Linked DNA regions of Homo sapiens: regions 2 and 3 are each linked to region 1. Evidence: promoter capture Hi-C in 16 types of primary human blood cells and fetal thymus (Javierre and others, 2016). All regions are on one chromosome and are shown on one strand. Each heading gives the region's core, a stretch centred on a gene start or on the middle of the fragment in contact. The rest is flanking DNA. Distances are from core to core; before and after follow the strand shown. Region 1 holds the start of WDSUB1 (WD repeat, sterile alpha motif and U-box domain containing 1). Region 2 overlaps PLA2R1 (phospholipase A2 receptor 1). Region 3 overlaps LY75-CD302 (LY75-CD302 readthrough).

Region 1 (4,079 bases), core at 849-3,348:
TGGGAGGTAGAGGTTGCAATGAGCCAAGATCCTGCCACTGCATTCCAGCCTGGGCGACAGAGCAAGACTCCATCTCACAAACAAACAAAAAAACCCACACACAAATTAGTGTAGATAAAAAAGGTATCCCTCAAGTTTGACAAGAAAGTGGAGAGACAAACACAACTACATATTGCTGAGAGTGTAAACTGTACAACCTCTCTGAAGAGCAGTATGGTAATACTTATTAAAACTGTCTACACCTTTATGCCCAGTGATTCCATTTCCTTTTTTTTCTTTTGTGAGACAAAGTCTCACTCTATCCCCCAGACTGGAAGTGGAATGGGGAGATCTCTGCCCACTGCAACCTCAGCCTCCTGGGTTCAAGAGATTCTCCTGTCTCAGCCTCCTGAGTAGCTGGGATTACAGGTGCGTGCCACCATGCCTGGCTAATTTTTTTCTATTTTTAGTAGAGATGGGGTTTCACCACGTTGGCCAGGCTGGTCTTGAACTCCTGACCTCAGGTGATCCACCCAGCTTGGCCTCCCAAAGTGCTGGGATTACAGGCGTGAGCCACCGCACCTGGCCTCCATTTCAATTTTTATCCTAAGTACATATTCATAAATATGGAAAAAGATTTATGTACATAACGTGGTAATATATTGAGGCTAAAAGAAAAAGATTTAGGTACAAAGATATTTAATCCAGCATTATCTACACTAAGATCAAAATTGTTGAAACCATCCAGCAACAGGGAAAATGTTAAATAATTTATGGTATGTTTATATGTAGACCATTATGTAGAAAAAAAAGCTAATGAAATTTTAGACATGGGAACAGCTCATGACACAAGTTTGTTTAAAAAGGCAGTTTCCAGGACTTTTTGTAAAATTAGTTTTTCTGAAAGACTGAGAGAAAATGTTATCTCTGAGTGGGTGATCTCTGAGGGGTGTAATTATTGACTATTTATTTTCCTGTTATATATTCTGTGTTTCCTACAGAGAGCTCTATTATTTATACAATCAAAAACTTGTTTTTAGAAAAATACTGTTTTGGCAATACTTTGGAATGGAATTTGGTGTTCAAAGTCTCAATCATGATGCACTCCGCTAATTTTAAAAAATTAACAAGAACTTCACAAAATCCTAATTTTTAATCTTCCCTTTCCCCTTAATCTTTTTCATTGCAAATAGTTTCCCACGGTCTCAATTTCATCTTTAAATGTGAGCATTTTAGGTCATTACTCTTCAAATGTAACTTCGGTCTCCACAGGCTGATATATTTTTAATGTTTCCTCATGGATTAAAAATAAAAGCTCTCTGTATCTTTGATTTTCATCTGAACATAGTCCCACACTATGTTGTGCATTTAGTTAACAAGTGGTAATTTGCTCAGGAACTTTTTTTTTTCTGGATAATTTTTATCTCAAAAAGCACTGGCAGGGCCACTTTGTAGTCAATGACACGTGGAAACCAGTCTACCGTGAGCCAGTGGGACGCACTGGGAAAGGCTGAAGAAAAGGCGCCCGGGGTTCCAGTGAGCTCAGGATACCCACCCAACGGCAGGGCTGGGGCCCGGGGCAGGCAGCCTGCCCGGGAGAGACCCCTAGGGGAACCCGAATGAGGAGGCGAGGGCAGAAGACGCCAAGTCACGGACCGCCCAGGGTGGCCGAAATAGAGAAGGCCAATCTGGGAGACCGGCCTCGGAGTACACAGTGCAGGGTGGAGAACTGGAGAAAGAGGTAAAAACTTTCAGCAGGGATGGCCGAACATTCCATGCAACGCCCCTTTAAAACGACGTTTCAGGCGATCACTAGGCCTTGCGACCGCAGCTTTAGCAAAAACAGAAAGATTTGCGACGGAAGTCCCTTTCCAAGCCTGAAATCGCCTTGACCCTAGGAGCCAGAAGCTGGGGAGGAACTCGCAGTCCGGGCGGAAGAGCGCGCATGCGCCGCCTCAGGGGCCGGTCCCGGGGGCGGGGCCTGTTCCCTCCGCCCTGGGTCTCCACAGGCTTTCGCGGGGCGGGGCCTACTCCCTCCGCTCTGGGTCACAGCGGGCGTTCGGGGGGCGGGGCCTGTTCCCTCCGCTCTGGGTCCCCGCGGGCGTTCGGGGGCGGGGCCTGTTCCCTCTGCTCTGGGTCTCCGCCGGCGCCCGCCCCGCCAGCCTCACCTGCGCGGCACGTGACCCGCACCGCCCGTGGGCACCTTGAAGGCGGATCCCGCGCGCCCCCGCTCCTGCAGGTGAGAGCGGCCGCGCCCACGGGCCGGCTCAGCGGCGGTGGCGGCAGGTGGGGAAGCGCGGCTGGGCCTGCTCGCGCGGGGCGTCTGAGCCCTCCATTTCCCGGTTCTAACCGCGCAGCAGGGCCCAACCGGGACCTTGAGTGCGGCGAGGCGTGGTTCGTGCACCCTTGGCCCGGGGCTAGGGCGGGCGTGTCGGCGTCGGGTGGAAGGAAGCCCCTTGCGGGTGAGCTCCCTGCCTCCCAGGCCTCCCTCTTGCCTGGGGTCGCTCAGTCCACAGAGGCCCGGCCGCTCATAGAGGGGGGCACATTCCTGGTCTTTCGTGCATGGGGGGTGTAAGTGGCGGACTTTATTTTGGGAGCGCTGGACACCTTTCGGGTTTGCTTTGAATGAGATGGGATTCATGTGTTTACGCTGGCCAACTGACCTGGTGTGCCCGGGAATTTACTGTTCGCGTGACAGCCGAGGCCCGAGGGAACGCCCACACCGCCCCCCCTACCCCAAGGCAGGTCCTGGGTAGGCCTGAGAGCTTTTTCAAAACAAACTGTTCAGCTGACGGTGGCCTCGGTACTTCCCACTGAATGCCCTGGAACTTGCAAAGGGAGCTGAGTGCGGCAGAGGGCTGGGAGCCGGAGTTTGTTTGGAAAATCACCTGTGCGCACTTGCACAGCTGGGATTTGCGAGCTCTCCAGAAAGCACCACCTGGTCTTGATTGTTTTCAAGACAGCAGTACAGGGATAGTCTACCAGAAATTTTCGTGTTTGGTTTTTAGGCTTTATTGGAGTTTATGTTCGAAGAAAAGAAGCTGAACTTATCCTAAAAGGATAAGATGAAGATAGGGAAAGGCATGCTCCTTATGCCTTAATATTTGTTTGATTGATTGATGGGGTCCTGCTCTGTTGCCCAGGCTAGAGTGCAGTGGTGCAATCACAGCTCACCGCCGGCGTCACCTCCGGGGCTCAAGTGATGCTCCCGCCTCAGCTTCTCGAGTAGCTGGGACTACAGGTGCTCGCCACCACACCCAGCTAATTATTTTTATTTTTAGAGAGATGGGGTCTTGCCTTGTTGCCCAGACTGGTCTTAAACTCTTGGGCTCAAGTGTTCCACCCATCTCGGCCTCCCAAAATGCTGGGACTACAGGTGTGCACCATCGCGCCCAGACTTTTTTTTTCTTTGGTAGAGGTGTTTCCGTAAATAAGACTAGGACAAAGGATTATCAATTTTACAAGTCAAGGTTATACCTGCCCCTTTCAGAGCTGATTCTGCCTCACTTGACACCAGTTTTCCACCGTCAGTTATGTTTCTGTGTGTGTATATATATTTAGTCTTGGTAGATTTTCTAATTTCATATTACATATGGATTATTTAAAGGCTGGAACTCAGTTGGGCTCGAACAAAATAAATATTCAACTTATATTTATTTAAGTACATTAGGTGCCTGACAGTTTTACATGGTGTGGATACAGAAATGAGCAAGATGGCAAAGTACCTACTCCTTTGGGATTTACATCCTAGTCGGAGGAGACAATTTAACAAATATCCGATGCTGGTGGTAATTGCTGAGAATATAGAGTGATGTGCTAGCCTAGGGAGTGGCTACTTTAAATAGGGAAACCGTCTCTGAGGAGAGACACTGAAATTGAGATCTAAATGACAAATAGGATCCCAAGAGCAGAGGCAAGAACATTTCAGCTTGAGAAAACCGCTTTATGGAGACGGAAGACTGTTAGGCCAAGGAGGCTGGAAAGAAGAGAGGGACAGTGGCCAGAGTTGAGATCTGAGAAGTGGGCAGGCGGGAATTATATAGGATTTTGATTACATAAGACTGTATAGGATTTTGTTTGCCATGATGAGTTTGATTTTA
Region 2 (4,079 bases), core at 1,144-3,643, 650 kb before region 1:
GTGGAATTAAAGTTCTGTTCTTTTCAATGGACTTGGTAAAAACTGCTAATCAACCAGCCTTCCAGTCAAGGTATATAGTCACACATAATAATTTGACAAAATACACCATTAGGAAAGTGATTTTGCAGAAAGAAGCTGTATTGCTTCTCAGTGCTCCATACTTTGATGTTTAGTATTGAACAACATCTCCAGATAATCTGGACCCATGGACAGATCACACACTTCTTGCCATTACTGAATTTGCAGAAATAGTACTGAAGTATTCTGCTACATTTTTATATTTGCATTTTTTTTGAAACTTTTTTTCATTTTTTTTTTTTTTTTTTGGAGATGGAGTCTTGCTCTGTTGCCAGGCAGGAGTACAGTGGCATGATCTCAGCTCACTGCAACCTTCAACTGCCTGGTTCGAGCAAGTTTCCTGCCTCAGCCTCCCGAGTAGCTGTGATTACAGGCACATGCCACCATGCCCAGCTAATTTTTGTATTTTTAGTAGAGACAGGGTTTCACCATGTTGTCCAGGATGGTCTCGATCTCCTGATCTCGTGATCCACCCGCCCCAGCCTCCCAAAGTGCTAAGATTACAGGCATGAGCCACCGCACCTGGCCTCATCTGTATTTTTAATGTGAACTAGATTTTATAGCTATAATTCGAAAAGAAAAAAAAGTAGCAGGTAATGGGTATATTATACACTATTTGCGTGATGGTTACACCAGACTTTACCACTACATACTGTATTTATGTAACAAAATTACACTTGTACTCCTTACATTTATGCCAAAAAAGCGGCAGGATCACAAATTCACACATAGTTAATGTGCCCCTCCAACAGTCAATTATGTTCTATGACTAACCTGAGGATCTTTATAGAATCTGAGTAATGGAAATGCCTGGGTTTTTCCATTTAACAATATATTGGGCTCTTACAGTTACAACAGTCTTCTTTCGGGTTAAATATTTCTTCTCTTGAAGGGTCCACTCCTTATTAAAGATAAGATTGAACTGAATGTTTACTTAAACGTTCAGTCTTTTGGAGTTTCTTTACTCTTCTCAAAATGGTGGTTGGATATATAAGAACTTGCTGTGTCCTGGTAGTGTTGAGGGGAGAAGGTGACAACTTACTGTGGATGTATGTTAGCTGGTGTCCACTGAGAATAGCTGTCTGGCCTCACTCCTGGGAATTCTGCTGGCATCTGCTGTGAAGTCTGCAGTTGCTTTAATCTGTAGTCTGTTCTCTTTGATTTGGCCTCATTCTGGCTGTCCCTGGTGCTGTCTTATCTCTTGAGAACTGGCTGTGTCTCCTGTTGAATTCCCTATCCGAACACTGCAGTTCTTGGCTACAAGGCAGTCACTTCACCCCTGCAGTGGTGAGATCCCATTAGCTACCATTAGCTACTCTTTTCGTCCAGAAAGGCGAAATGCCATAGCAAACAATCCCACAGTCTTGGTGGATTAACACAGCAAAGGTTTATTTCTCACCCACACCTGCATGGGCTGGCAAGAGGACTTTGCTCTGTTCAGTCATTCATGGGTCCATGCTTCTCCTATATAGCCAGCCCTCTGTCTCCTAAGGCCTGGAGTCCTCCATGGGCCTCCAATCTGTGGCTGACAGAGGATGTTGACTTGAGACCCATCTTTGATTCATTATGGAGCTTCCACAGGCTGTTGAAATCCTCTAAGTCAAAAGTCCTCAAACTGGGGACACATGCCTAAGGAATACAGGAGCATGGGTATTTAAGAAACTTAATTTCCAGAATCTTCATGTATATTTTTTCTTAAAACTGATTTACCTGAGAGCACCCCTGGTTCTTCTTTCCCACCTCTCTTTACACAAATGCCTTTCTCTACCTTTAAAAAGAAAAAGAAAAAGAAATGGCTTTCATTTCAGATCTTACTATGGGAAAATCCTCCATGGCTCCAAAGAAAAATATTCGAAGTATTGATGTCAGTGAAGCTTCTTTTAATAAAGAAATTGTAAACTCATTCTGTAGATCCTCACGTCTTTCTCTGTGTTAGGACATTTTTCTGTTAAAGTTGAAGCGATGACTTAGAAATGAGTTATTTTGCCCCATGTTCATATTCTGAATTAATATGTATTATACAGTGGAACAGCTGGAGTGCTACTTTCATTTGAAAATTTATCTCATCCACTGCCTGACTATTGTCAGAGAACAAGCTGTAGAAAAAGTCTGGTGAAAGCAAAGTGAAGCATGTGTTGCCAAGAACCTAACATCTTATGTTATCCAGAAGAAAGTCCCAAGGCTTGATTTATCTTAGATTTCTATGTGAGTTGTGAGGATGAGTATTAACAAGCTTATTTGAACTGAAAAATGAATTCAGACCTTTTCTGAAGTTTTTTTTATTTGGCTCATTGGTTTGACAACAAGGATTGACTTTACCCATTAAGTTTTATGATGAACATTTTGTATTAATTGAATGAACTAAATCTGCTGCTCTTGTGTTCTGATTAAAGCTTGTAATAGGGTAAAGGCATTTTAATAGAAAAATAGTATTGACTGAACTATAATGAAGTGATATTTTACTTTTCCCAGCCTTCATTTGTATATCAGGTAAAGCAAGATGCCTGTAAGTGAAAGAGTAACAGGCATAATGAACAGTTATTTGAAGAGTCTTAGTAAAGCCTTTTAATTTTACTTGTAGGAAATTGACATGAATCATTCTAATGACTGGGTAACAAATCACTTTGCAAGTAGGGTGTTTCCACTTCTATGCTTTAAAAAAAACTGAAGGAGAACATAATCAAGCAGTTGGTTGATATAGAAAATAATTTTTAATGTAGAATCACTGATTTTTTGGCACCTATGAGAAAGGAATTCAAGTAATAGAGGGATATTGTTATAACAAACCTCCTTTTATTCCCATCTACTTATTTATATGAACAAAGTTTCTATGTTAAGATAAGTTAGAGAGTGCTGTGGAAACAAACCCTGTAATACTAGTGGTTAAAAACAAAACTCAGAAGTTAATTTATTGATCATGCGAAGCCTGCTATGGTCAGGACACTTGCCTCCAAGCAGTAACTCACAGATCCAGGCTGTGTCCTACCTCCAGAACATGGGGCTTCCAGTGCTGCTATGGCACTAGAGAACTGTTAAGTTCCCAGGTTTAGGAAGAAACACGTGGCACTTCCACTCGCGTGTCATTGGCTGGAACTAGTCACATGACCTAACCTAACTGAAAGGAAATCCAGGAAGTCTTCTGCTTTGTGTGCTCAGGAAAGAGAGGATAAGGGACTACAGACAGCACCAGCAATTGCTACCAGAGTTTCTCAACATGTATAGCTACAAAAAAAGAAGAGAGAGAACAGAATTGATGCTGAACCTTGATTTATACTAGCAGTTTTTAATACTAATTAATTTTTATCTATGATATATCCATTTCATTAACAGATCCATTTGCTATCATTTTAGTTTGACATATACTATCTTAATCTTTGTAACATATTTATTTTGTTCTGATCAATTGTATACTAACAATAATTGAAATGACAACTCAATATAGAAGAAAATGTGTAATACTTAGAGCCTATGTTCACAGGGACTTCTTAAAAAATAATTTTAGGCTGGGCGCGGTGGCTCACGCCTGTAATCCCAGCAACTTTGGGAGGCCGAGGCGGGTGGATCACGAGGTGAGGAGATCGAGACCATCCTGGCTAACAAGGTGAAACCCCGTCTCTACTAAAAATACAAAAAAATTAGCTGTGTGTTGCGGCGGGTGCCTGTATTCCCAGCTACTCGGGAGGCTGAGGCAGGAGAATGGCATGAACCTGGAAGTCGGAGCTTACAGTGAGCCGAGATGGCGCCACTGCACTCCAGCCTGGGCGACAGAGCGAGACTCTCTCTCAAAAAAAAAAAAAAAAAAAAAAAATTAATTTATATACATATTTTTACTGCAGGAAAATATGACAAGGTAATGAATAAAATATTTCACAAATTAAAGTATATCTCATTAGGATAAAATTCTGTGGGGGAGTTGGAATGGAAATACAAGATTGAAAGAAAGTAATATCTCTGACTGCTGAAGAGGTTATTTCTATTTTTAAATAGATTATGATAGAATT
Region 3 (4,079 bases), core at 1,082-3,581, 610 kb before region 1:
CCCGGGTGTGGTGGCAGGCACCTGTAATCTCAGCTACTTGGGAGGCTGGGGCATGAGAATCACTTGAACCTGGGAGGCGGAGGTTGCAGTTAGCTGAGATTGTGCCACTGCACTCCAGCCTGGGCAACAGAGCAAGACTCCATCTCAAAAAAAAAAGTGTGAAGGATGAAAGCTGCTATGGCAAACATCCTTAGCTGCAATCCTGTGGAATACTTTTAAAATTCAGATTTAAAATAACTTTAAGCTTTAAAGGATTGTTGTTGCTGTTGTTGTTTCTCTTGTCGTTGCTTCTGTTATTTAAAACAAAACAAAAAAATCCTTCCAAAGTTCAAGCTGCAGTGAGACTTAATTTTATAGTTATTATTTACATGGTAAAATTCCCCTCAAGTCACCAGTCCCTGGTATGGGAATTTTTAACTCTGAAAGCCTTTGAATTATTACTAGGAAAAGCATCTGGTGTTAGTGAAACCAGTGACTGTGAAGCTGGTATCAAAATGAAAGTGCCTTTTGGGAACCAAAATTTTACAGGTCTTTCTGCTGAACTCTGGTTCACTGACAGTGATTGCTTAAGCTTGTCTAAAATATTTCAGCTTTACTCTTATCAACATGATTTGTGCTGTAATTGTTTAAAATTTTCCTTTGTAAAATAACTAACCAAATTATCTGATTATAGTTTGTTGTAACAGATGTGAATCTTATTCCACAAACTCAGGTGTGCAAGAAACAATGCATTACTTTATTTTCAGAAATCCAAATTAAATTTGATGCTGAGCTCCCATTCCACCAGGTTGCCAGAACTTCAATAATTGTCCTTACTGGGGTCTTTGCCAGCTCATGCAAAGTGCCAGGGGAACATTCAGGGAGGATTCTTCTTTAGTCATTGGATCCCGCTGGTTACCTCTGGGTTTTCCATTGTCCAAACCCACAGGATCTTGTATCTGGTGGCTCAAGACTCATCAGCCATCACTTTGGTAGTTCCTGGAGTTTGGGGTTCAGCCTTCTTAGGTGATCCACACTGTCAATCCCCCCAGGCTTTCCCCAGGCCCTGTCGCCTTCCTGAGGGTGCCACAAGCCAGTGTATGGCTGGATAGTTGCAGACGACTGTGATGAAACTGAGGACAATGAAACTGCCACAGTGGAGCTGGCCACAGGTTCTACCCTCAGAACCCAGACCTCTGTTTCTTCTTGTTTCTGTACCCCACTGTTCTGCTGCTCCCTCAGAAATTTCCCCATTTCCTCTGAGATACCTCAATGAATTTAGGTCTCCAAAAAATATCTAGGGGGAAGTGGTCTTTAAGAAAATTGTCCTTAAGTTTTCCTTTTTAGTGGCCCCACTAACTTGCCCTAAGGCAGAGGAGCACAGAGGCCTCACTATGTACTTGGATCTGAAGAAAGGAACATATATATAGTGCACATGCTGTGTTAAGCATCGACTTTTCATGTAATAATTTACCCTGCCGTAGTAGCTAACATGTAAGCAAGGCAGAATTATGGTCCCAACTAGACTTTTCATTGAGATGAAAACTAAAGAGCTTCTTTTGTCTTATTAAATGAGAAGGGAAAAATCTTTCATGAAATAGCAACAACAAATATACATGCTACTCTACACGCTTTACATGGATTAGCTCCTTTCATGCTCACAACCATCATATGAAAACTGGAGCACAGAGGTTAAATGATTTGCCCTGATCCTATGGCTAACAAGTAGCAGGAGCAAAATATGGACCCAGGCGGACTGGCTCCAGAGCCCGTGTTCTGACCCTACACACTGCACTGCCTCTCTGCTCACCACTGTCCCACCTTTTGTAGTCCCCTGCAGCTTAAAAAGAGTGGGAACAGACTGAGGATGGGAACAGTCCAGTAGTGCTCAGACTCTCCTCAGCAGGCAGGGAGCAAGGCGCTTCAACCACATAATCTACAATCTGTCTGTCCATTTGACTCAGCTAATGACCCCTTCACCATCGTCCATGGAAATACGGGCAAGTGCATCAAGCCAGTGTATGGCTGGATAGTAGCAGACGACTGTGATGAAACTGAGGACAAGTTATGGAAGTGGGTGTCCCAGCATCGGCTCTTTCATTTGCACTCCCAAAAGTGCCTTGGCCTCGATATTACCAAATCGGTAAATGAGCTGAGAATGTTCAGCTGTGACTCCAGTGCCATGCTGTGGTGGAAATGTGAGCACCACTCTCTGTACGGAGCTGCCCGGTACCGGCTGGCTCTGAAGGATGGACATGGCACAGCAATCTCAAATGCATCTGATGTCTGGAAGAAAGGAGGCTCAGAGGAAAGCCTTTGTGACCAGCCTTATCATGGTGAGTATTAGAGAGGGACTTTGACCGATTTGCTGTTGTGCTTGTCACATGTGGCATTAAACATGCACAATTTAGTAAAAATAGAGTCGTACATTAGTAAGGGCAGTGAGTAAGCTCTTCACTTCCAGGCACTGTGCAGTTACTTTGAGCGACATTCTTACAAGTCCATGGTATTTGCCTCTACTTTGCAGGTAAGGCTAAGAGAGATAAAGTGCCTTGTCTGAGGTCACACAGCCATGTTGTGATAAACCTGGGATTTCATCAGATAGATATGTACTTCTTATGATGGTCTTCTAAACCCTAGAGGAAAGGAAACCCTAGAGGAAAGGAATCATTAGATTTGTACAGGCTAAAAGTCAAATGATCTAATAATGTTGATCTTATTCTAAGTTTTAAAAGAAGAAGAAAGGTCAGGCGTAGTGGTGCATGGTTGCGGTCCCAGCTTCTCGAGAGACTGAGGCAGCAGGATCACTTGAGCACACAGGAGTTCAAGGCTGTAGTGTGTAATGATCACGCCTGTGAATAGCCACTGCACTTCAGCCTGGGCAACATAGTGAGACACCCATCCTTAAAAAAGAAAAGAAGGAGAAGGAGGAAAAATATATTTTTTCTTGCCTACGGATTTTGAATAAAATGGGAAAATTTTGAGTGGATTTTCTTATTTATTTTCATTTTTGCATGGCAACCAAATTTTGATGTTTATATTTATGATTCAGCATTTTAAGAGTGGAGTTTTTCAGTTGCTTCCGAAAATAAGTATATTAATATTGCCTTGCGGGGAGCGGACCATGGACTTAGCCCTGAGTCTAGGGACTGGATTGCAACTAATTTCTAAGTTAAAGAATGAGTAGATTTATTTTTTTAACCATTAAATGTAATTAGCTATCTCCCAAGCAAATATTTTTCATTATGTTGCTCTAAATTACACCAAATGTCGATATGCATATAATTATGTCCTCTAAGTCCTATTATTTCCCCTTGCCTTTCTTTACAAATTTCCCTAGCTTTACAGTGGCTTTCTTCTTCTCTTAAAGATCATTTAAGCTAAATTTGGCCTCAAAGTCACTATAGCAGCTTGCTCCCATACTTTCCATTATCCATCTGCACAAGTTTTTCTTTCTAGCTTTCTATTTCCTAGTGAGGATGCAAGAATTATTCTGAGAATGTCAAGTTCTGTTGTGGAGAAATATTAGAGAATTAGAGATAGGGTTTCCTTTTCATCATTCCCTGGCCTTTGAATAGTTGACAGTCTGTTTCTGCGAGCCAGTTTCCTCCTAAAAGTAAAGCAGTTGCTTTTTGGATATGACTTAATGGCAAATTTAAATTCTGTGCCACAAAAGCCCTTCTCCAACTTGCCAACTAAGAGGAAACACAGAGCCAAACAAAATGCCTTTTAATTGGATTTAACTTGTTTCATTGTATTTGTCCAGGGATCAGAAAGGATAATTTTCTTGGCAGGGTTCTTTTAGTCTCCTGATCTAATTCTTTTGAGGGGCATAGTTGTAATCTTAAACTCCCTCAGTCCCCAGTGTCTTCATTTCAATATAACTGGTTTTCCTTTTTATCCTATGTATTTTATGTATGCATTTCTAATGTTCTTCTGAGACAGGGACTGTGGATTTCACCCAGCTGCCAAAGAGATCAGTAGCACAAAAAAGGTTAAGGATCTACCCAGGGGACCACCCAGAGAGAGCTAAGCAATGCCACCAGCATAACCCAAAGGCATGAAGTGTTTCTTGACCTTTTCAAATATAATATTTGAAA

Evidence for each region. The method cuts DNA at HindIII sites, captures the fragments that hold promoters and counts their contacts. A CHiCAGO score of 5 or more calls a contact.
Region 2: a contact is called between a fragment that was not itself captured here and the fragment with the promoter of WDSUB1 in region 1, in 1 of 17 cell types (total B cells). The highest score is 5.0, in total B cells.
Region 3: a contact is called between a fragment that was not itself captured here and the fragment with the promoter of WDSUB1 in region 1, in 1 of 17 cell types (neutrophils). The highest score is 6.8, in neutrophils.

The regions. Positions count from the first base shown.
Region 1 is chr2:159,284,722-159,288,800 of GRCh38, reverse strand. WDSUB1 (WD repeat, sterile alpha motif and U-box domain containing 1) reads left to right here and starts at 2,098. Exons shown (of 11, transcript NM_001128212.3): 1 at 2,098-2,218. RefSeq lists silencers at 1,969-2,138, 1,825-2,264. The HindIII fragment of the contact is 12,257 bases long and covers 1-4,079 here.
Region 2 is chr2:159,935,753-159,939,831 of GRCh38, reverse strand. It overlaps PLA2R1 (phospholipase A2 receptor 1), which reads left to right. Exons shown (of 30, transcript NM_007366.5): 30 at 1-4,079. Among named protein-coding and RNA genes, the nearest start is that of LY75-CD302, 33 kb to the right of the region's middle. The HindIII fragment of the contact is 160 bases long and covers 2,314-2,473 here.
Region 3 is chr2:159,896,924-159,901,002 of GRCh38, reverse strand. It overlaps LY75-CD302 (LY75-CD302 readthrough), which reads left to right. Exons shown (of 38, transcript NM_001198760.1): 2 at 1,944-2,315. LY75 (lymphocyte antigen 75) reads left to right here. Exons shown (of 35, transcript NM_002349.4): 2 at 1,944-2,315. Among named protein-coding and RNA genes, the nearest start is that of LY75, 5.8 kb to the left of the region's middle. The HindIII fragment of the contact is 3,516 bases long and covers 574-4,079 here.